Linked DNA regions of Homo sapiens: region 1 is linked to region 2. The links are contacts of gene promoters, found by promoter capture Hi-C in blood cells and fetal thymus (Javierre and others, 2016). All regions are on one chromosome and are shown on one strand. Each heading gives the region's core, a stretch centred on a gene start or on the middle of the fragment in contact. The rest is flanking DNA. Distances are from core to core; before and after follow the strand shown.

Region 1 (4,320 bases), core at 617-3,116, 420 kb after region 2:
TCATTGGTTCTTATGTCCCAAGGTCCTTTTATGTATGGCTTGAGCTTGTAGGCCCAGTTGGAACCCTATCTAATCCTCTCTCACAGGAAGGCTATATAGGCTCTCAAAGGCAAGCCTCCCCTCTCTTTCACCCCATTAGAGTCCCGGTAGCCATTCCCATACCGCCTAGAGCTTGACTACGCAAAAACTGTCAGGAGGCAGACTGACCTAATGGTCAGACTAGCTCTGGCCCTGCAGCCCAGATGCAGTGGGGAGTCCAAGAGCATCTCATCTCTCTCTCAGGCTGAGGCACTGAGGTTGCAGGAGATAGGGCTGAGAGCCGGAAGTGACAGCCTGACCCAGAAGGAACAGGGAACAGATACATACATGCGTGTGCATGCACACACACGCACACATTCCGAAGTTGACAGACTAACATACACACAGACATGATGACAACCAAAAGCTGGGACTCCACACACTGAATGCAGGACTTTAGGCGGGGGGCAGAGAGAGAAGGTGCTGGGGCACAAGAGGCAAGGGTATGAAGTCCCTCCAAATAGGAGTGGAGTGCCAACTGCCCTGCCTCGCTCCAAACACCTGACTCCTGGGCCATGGCAAGAGTCCAGTCCATTAAGTGCAGCGTGCAATACTAGCGCTTGGAGTCTCCTGTCCTCATCAATGAAGCGGTGTGGACGGGATAGCAGTCACCTGGCAGGAGGCCTTGACCCCTGGCAGGCTAGTTGTATCGGCCCTTGATCATTGTGTTCAACAAGGGCCCCACCTGTAAAGAAACATGAGGAGCCAATCAGAACTGGCTGTTCCCTGGCCCTGGAATTGGACAGGGTGTGTCTGGAGACATCAGATGTCCAGCCAAGGACAGAGACAATGTTTTCATACAATCTTGTGAATCCTCTAATCACCTATCTTCCTGAAGGTCAACCCAGTATTCTGGGACATAGTCTTTCCCTCAGGGGTCCATCTTGTACTATTATTCTTCTCTCGCACAACACCGTCTCTTACCGTAATCTGCCCCAAACGGACAGACATGGTCAGAGAAGCTAATAATCCCCGAACACCCAAGAGTGTCTATATGTTTCTCCAGAATGTTAACTGCCTCCATATCCTCAAAAAATGATCATCTGCAACTGGGGCTGATGCTATCTCCCAACACCACAGGTGTCTGTGGATGCTGAGGTTACCTCCAAGAGGCAAGCAAGAACCCTACAAATACAAACCTCCCCCATTTACCCAATGGGCCACTGGCACACCTGCATGGGAAGCAGGTCTCTCAACATTACCTACAGCAGCCCTGGCACAGCTGGGAAAGTGCAAGGAGATGTGTTAGTGCTCGCTTCCTGTTCCAGAAGAATCCCCTCAGGGGGTCCCCAGATGGTACATAATACCCATGGGGAACATTACTACTAGCATGGAACTAATTATAATTGATCTGCCAGTCAAGCCCAGCTATCACCAGAAAACAAGAATTTTTCTGAACATACCCATAACCTCTATGGAGAGAGAGGACACCAGACACTGAAACACAGAAGCTGTAAAGAATGTCGCTCTGATCCTGACTTTCCTTGGTCAACCCACCCACTGAGCCACCTTGGGGCAGTCACCTACCTCTTGTGGGTTCCCCAAGGCCTCTCCAAGCATCTTCTCAATGTTTCTCATTATGGCCACTTTCTGATGAGCTTTGAGAGGATATTCAATTCTCTTAGGGGTGGGAGCCCCCTACAAAGGAAGCAGTAGCTCAGGAAATGCCTTTAGCAGCAGGCGTCAGTGTCACTCTACTGTTCTTAGTACCATCCTCCCTTCTAAGAAACCCAATTCTTGCCGGGCACGGTGACTCAGGCCTATAATCCCAGCACTTTGGGAGGCCGAGGCGGGTGGATCACTTGAGGTCAGGAGTTTGAGACCAGCCTGGCCAACATGGTGAAACCCCATCTCTACTAAAGATACAAAAATTAGCCAGGCATGGTGGTGTGTGCCTATAATCCCAACTACTCGGGAGGCTGAGGCAGGAGAATCACTTGAACCCGGGAGGCAGAAGTTGCAGTGAGCCGAGATCACGCCACTGCACTCCAGCCTGGGGAATAGAGCAAGACTCTGTCTCAAAAAATATATTTAAAAAAAAGAAACCCAATTCAATCCTGTCCCTTTCATCTCCCCAGACACCTGACAATCACTTCCAGGGATAGTCAACCATCCCATCCAAAATCATTTATTATACCTACCTCACCCAAGAGCCAGTTCCATCTGGAAAAAACAAAAAAAGCAAACCATATTCACCTTATACCAGAAGTTCACAGTGATGGTAATCCCCCCATTTAGTAATGACTCTATGTGATGCCACCTGCAAGAAAACAAACAGGCTCCTGTTTACTACTGATACTTTTGGCGGGGGCGGAGGGGCGAAGTGCGGGGGGGTGGCAGGGTTGGGCTGAAAAACTAGGTGGAGTCCAGTTACGGAAAATAGTGAAGACAATATCTTTACACTCATCCTGTGAAAAAAACACACACTTGGGGGTTAGAGGTACTGGTGTTCAGTCTCGAAATACCAAAGAGCCAAGAACAGTTTTTCTAGGCTCAAGCCTCCGGAATCTCTTTGGACTTGAAGAACCGTCATCCTGTCCTAGAGACAGGGCTATCATTCCCGCCACTATCCCCCACAGGTTCAGTACGCTCATGTCTGGATATGCCAACCTTCCTATAGACCACATAAAACCAATCATGCCATAACTCAGAAGCGACACAGACAAGGCTTTCCAGGGAATGGAAAAGAAAGCTCCCAAAAAGCCCCCAGCCCTAGCCCCCTTCTCACCAGTACATTGGGATGTAAAGAACATCACCAGGGCCAACCACTGTTTCGTAACCAACCACATTTTGGAAATTAGGGAACCTCTCGTAGTCGGGATTGTCAAAGTCCACCTAAGAGGTTCAAGAGAAAGAAAAAAAATATCAATCACCAAATCTTCACCAGTAAAACTACTATATGCCAGTTTGGCAGTAAAAACAAACAAACAAACAAAAAAAAAACGATGCCTTAAAAAAAGTATTTGGAATTTATATCCAGCAGAAGATATAATGCACATTAAACCCTGAGAGAGAACAATATAAGACAGTCCACATTTGAATGTTAAGTGATAAAGAATCCTAGGCTTCAGTGCTCCTGAGGTCAGACGACCTACTCCACAGCTGAGGATATGAGGAATTAGGAATTATCCTCCACCTAAACCTTCAGAAACTTTTCCCAAAAACATATTCTAACCAGCAAAGACTCCCACATGAAGTAGCTAGACAGCTTTCTGAAGAAAGGAAAGGATATCTTTGGCTGGCCACAGTTAACCACATACCTCATTTAGATCTAGGAAATACATTAAACAACATAGCTCAGTTTTATTCACCCTTCTTATCAAAAAGAAATAGCATCCATGACAAAAGCAAACAATGATTAAATCCAATGGAGACATACACATTTTGTTCCATAAACTTATAAGCCAATCAAACAGAGTAACCAGAGTCCATCAGCATCAATGACAGTGTCTGTCCTGAGAATTAGCTCTGTGGGGCTAGTTATACTTACAAACATCTGGTGGCCACTCCAGGGAGCCTGGAATATGTGAGCTACAATGAAATTACCCTCTTGGTGTGTTAAGGCAAGAACAGCCTGTAATCCGAACCTGGCATATCACTACGGGGAAGGGGAAAGACATTCCAGCCTAGGCATTACTAGAATCTAGAGTTCTATACCCTTCTCAGACCACACAAGCTCACCTGGCTCTGTCTGTCACATGGGTGATGAACAGGGTATGGGTAGAGGCACTCGAACTGATCCGGAGGGAATAAGATGCATCGTTTGTAACCTTTTATCTGAGCAAAAAAGTTCTGCTGCTCATCATAGTGAGCAGGTGTCACATTTCCTGTAAGAAGAAAGGCATTTTCTTATGCAGAGCAGTGGTTCTATTGCATAAGCTGGAATACAGGACCCAGTGCTAAAGAGAAACCCAGCCTGCCCTCCCAGCTAAAAGTTCCAAATCAAAATTTAGGCAGAATCAGGGAAATTCCAATTACAACTCTCAGAAAATTAGGTGTTAAGCTTGTATGGTAATAACTCTAGCAAACATCACTGGTTAAGGGTCCACTATCAGCTAAGTCAACTTCCCTAAATGAAGGCTGCTGCCCTTACTGGAAGCAAGAGCACATCAAAATGATCCTCAAAAATCAGGTAGGGTAATCAACTGTGTACACCGTGTACTCTTCTTGACTACGGCAGGAATTCAAGGAAAGCAAAACAGAAATGACTGGTATCAACAACATATACATGAGGAGTTAACC
Region 2 (3,934 bases), core at 201-2,700:
GTCACACAGCCTCAGACATTGAGGAGAGATAAACCCACACATGTGGGTTTGTGTCAAGGACTGTGCACCTATTCAACAGGAGGGTCCTATACATACACATGTATGTGTAGGGACATGCACACAAACCCATTGATATAGTGGGCCAGGCAATCATGTTCACAGAAGGGTCAAGTACATGTGTGCTCACACGCAGTTCTTGAACACACAACTACATCCATGCAGAGACAAGCACACATGCATACAGGGGTCCAGTTTTTGCCATAGGCTTGGAGGCTGCCAGTGTCCACTGGGGTGAGATGCAGAGCAGAACCCTGCCTCTGTTCCTGAAAGTCCCAATTCTAAGGCCCAATTTCAAGTGTGTGTTTGTGTGTGGGGGTGGTGAGGGGGTTGTGTGTGTGTGTGTGTGTGGTGATGGGGGAGGCTTCTGACCTTGGATGGGCAGATGGGATGGGTGCATGAGTCAAGGCCGCTCTACAAGGGAGGGAATGGGAAAGTAACTCAGGCAGGAGGAGGCCCCTAGCTTCAGCAAAGATGGAATGGAACGCATAATTTAGTACTCCTCCACCCCTATGTATATTGCGGTTCTAAAGGTGGGAGACGGGCTGGAGCTCTCAGCCCCCACTTAACCTGTGGGAGGGGGCGGGGCTAAGTGGGCGGGGCGGAGCATATCACCCCTCCCTTCAGTGGCGAAGTACGGGTTTAAGGTCTCCAGTCCACGCCCCACACTCCACCCCAAGTTCCACAGTTCGGGTTCTTCCCCAGGGCCAGCCCCCTGAACTCTGATCACCTTTCCTCTATTAGATCTTGGGGTGGAGGGAACTGGGGAGGAGAGACCCTTCAAACAGGATCAATGGAGGATCAGCAGGCTCTCGACCTTCATCCCAGATGTCCACCTGCCTAGTGTAGGCGGTATTTCCCTCTGCCTAGTAGGATGGCGGTCTCTCCTGGCTTGAGAGAGCCCCTCCCCCGGGACCCCCTCCCTCCAACATCCTGGACAGTCCGCGGTCCTCTCCCTTCGTCAGGTCTAACCTCAGTCTCTACTGCTGCAGCTCGAGGACAAGCTCTCCTTCGATCCCGCCGGACGCCGGGAGACGTGACCCAGATCCTGGGGAACACTGTTCGCCACGCGGCCCCCTCCCCGCGCTGGTCCCCGACTCCGTGGTGGCCGGTTTGCACCCCGCGCAGCCCGAGGCCTGGCCCGCGCCCCTCTAGAGCCGTCATGCAGGACCGGGGGACTTGGTGGTGAGAAAGGCCTGGCCCAGCTTGGAGGGTAGAATGGACGTGGGGGAGGCCTTGCCCGACCCCCGGCCCGCAGCCCCAGGCTCACGCCAGGGCGCCGCCCGCACTCCTCGCCTTGCTCACCTTTGCGCTCGGATCCGGGGCCATAGAGACAGCGACGCGCGGCTCCGCGGCCCCACAGCACCAGCTGCGAGAGGAAGGGGCCGCGGCTGGAGGCGGGGCGGGGGGGGGGTGGTGGAGGCGGAGCCGGGGGTGGGGCGGGGTCCTGAAAGGCGGGGCCGACTGGGTGGGGTGAGGGGAAGGTCGCCACTCTCTTCTTTGCGCCCCCTACTCTAGCACAATAGAGGCGGTTTGAGGGCGAGGCTCACACACAGCCTTCGGCCATCGGGCGACCCCCCACCTCTAGGCGCTGCGGCCCTGAAATCGCCCCCTGGTGGTGGCCTCGCCACCCCGTGCACCCTCCACATGCTTATAGCCCGTCCTCTCCTCCGCTGTAACCCTAGGACCCCCCTGACTTGCCTACTGCTGGGGACGTGCAAACCTGTCCTGGCGTTGCGGGGTTGGGGGACCCTCTCGGAGGGCCTTCTGGCCTGTCCTCTAACCTGGACCTCACTCCCTGTGCTCCTGCCACCCGCTTCTGCTCTCGGCCTAGGGTGTGGAGGGAAGGCTACCCTAGGTGGCGACTGGACGTTAGGGAAGCTCTGAACACAAGGTAGGGGCTTGATTCCCAGCTTCAGGGGCTGTTCAGCTTGAGCTATGCGTGGGGGAGATGGGGTCAGGCCTGAAGGGGATAAAGTAACAGCCTGACCTGAAAGGCACACAGAAAATGCTTTTTCTGGATAAATAAGCCACAAGCGTTTGCACCTGTTCACTCACCAAATCTTAACCCTAACCTAGGCTCACCTCAGGGACTGGGTCATTCAAACACTTGCCTTCCCCTCCAGCTCATCTTGGGCACCATTCTTATCCAGAACTTAGAGTGCACCCTTCTAGGCAATCAAGTACCCTATCCTTCCCAGATTCAATCACCTTACCCAGCAGCAATCTAGGAAACCCCTCACAATCAACTCCCCAACTCCTTTAACTCAACTAGGATGGTCCTTCTGTGCAAACTTGGTTCCTGCCTCCTTTAATAGGTCACAGCCTATTAAAGTGAACTTAGCCCCTATAGTCCAAACAAAACCTGCATTCAGGCCCTGACCCAGCCTGGTCCTTCCTCCTCCATCCATGACAGTATTCATGTGGGCTCAAGAGATGGACCAAAATGATAAAGGCCACAGGAACATATGTGATTGACTCTTGCATGTGCCTAGGAGTCAGAACAGGATTCAAGTGGCACATTTAACTAAAGGAAACTTGGGAAAGGCTTCATCCTTCTTTCTGGATTCCCCAAAGCTCACAGTTTGGCACTGAATCATATACAATCTCGTAGTTTGGATGGCTGTGTGTGACTGCAGACTGCTAGACAGCAGGGCCCACATCACAGTTCCACCTCCCCCAACACTCTGCAAATAGGATGTGTGTGGCGGGGAGAGGGAAGGTAGCTGGGGAGAAACACAATAAAAAATGTACACACACTTTTACAAAGAATATCCTGCTTCATTTTTTATTTGTACCCTCATCCCATCCTGAGGAATTTATAGCCCCATTTTATGGATGGGGAAACAGGCTCTAAGACATTAAGTAACTTGCCTTGAAGTTCATTCTTGTGTTTATGGAGAGGACAATCAAGACTGGAAAAGTCTGAGAAGGAGGAAGCAGGGTAAGCCAGAAGGGGAAATACCATTGGCAAAGGTAGAAATGTTCAAGCTTATGCACAGGCTTGTGTTGGGGAACTAAGGAAGGGGCATGAAAGAGGGCAGTGAGTTTGATTTGATGAAATGGCTGGGGGGGGGGGGGGGGCGGGGAGGGGTTCCTAGTGGGAAATAAAAGGGAAAAGTCAGCTAGTAGTTTGAAAAAGACCACAGAAGAAAATCCTGAAAGAGATGATGGACTGAGTAAGGACGTCTGAGGTGGGAAGACCAGTCAAGGCAGGGCTAAGAAAGATAAATCTGCAGTCCTTATCAAAAAGTGGGTTGGTGGTAACAGTGGAGGCAGGGTAGGAAGACTGCTGGTCCTTCAGTAGCAGATAGGAGAGCAATTAAACTGTAGGGGCCCAGGGGGCTAAGAGGCACAGCTTCCCAAATGTTCACAGAACCTGCAGTGCTGACTTCAGATAGCTCTGGAGGTGGCGAGTAGGCCAGTGTGGTAGGCTCAGTATCACTCAACTTCACTTTATGAACCAAGCTTTGCTCCTCTGAGGTGCTGATGGCAAACTCAGACATTGTTAAATGAGCAAAATGTGTGATTTCAATGATCACTGGGCAGTTACTTCAGTACTTTTGATAGCAGACCACAATCCATTTCCTTCTGCTAGCCTCCCAGTAAAATCTCTAAACCTAATGAGAGTATCAGATGTAAAAGCAATTAATGGAGCTGCCCATAGGAAGCCCTTTTGATTGACAGTATGTCTCTCTGCAAATCCAGCTGGTAAAATAAGAACGGGGGAATACTGACAGACAGTGGAAAAGAAAACTGGAAATCAACTAAAGAAATTAACCCTAACCCAGCCATAAATCTGCATCCTGGGACACAGGCAGGTCATTCTTTGAACAGGCTGTCACTCATCCATAAGGTCACTACCCTGGCTGCTTCG

The links. The method cuts DNA at HindIII sites, captures the fragments that hold promoters and counts their contacts. A CHiCAGO score of 5 or more calls a contact.
Region 1: a contact is called between a fragment that was not itself captured here and the fragment with the promoter of SEMA4G in region 2, in 1 of 17 cell types (M1 macrophages). The highest score is 5.1, in M1 macrophages.

The regions. Positions count from the first base shown.
Region 1 is chr10:100,544,536-100,548,855 of GRCh38, reverse strand. It overlaps HIF1AN (hypoxia inducible factor 1 subunit alpha inhibitor), which reads right to left. Exons shown (of 8, transcript NM_017902.3): 4 at 3,760-3,905; 5 at 2,807-2,913; 6 at 2,275-2,338; 7 at 1,606-1,716; 8 at 1-763. The coding sequence ends at 719. Among named protein-coding and RNA genes, the nearest start is that of HIF1AN, 11 kb to the right of the region's middle. The HindIII fragment of the contact is 4,435 bases long and covers 1-4,083 here.
Region 2 is chr10:100,967,020-100,970,953 of GRCh38, reverse strand. SEMA4G (semaphorin 4G) reads right to left here and starts at 1,450. Exons shown (of 15, transcript NM_017893.4): 1 at 1,363-1,450. RefSeq lists a silencer at 1,434-1,493. The HindIII fragment of the contact is 3,455 bases long and covers 1-3,050 here.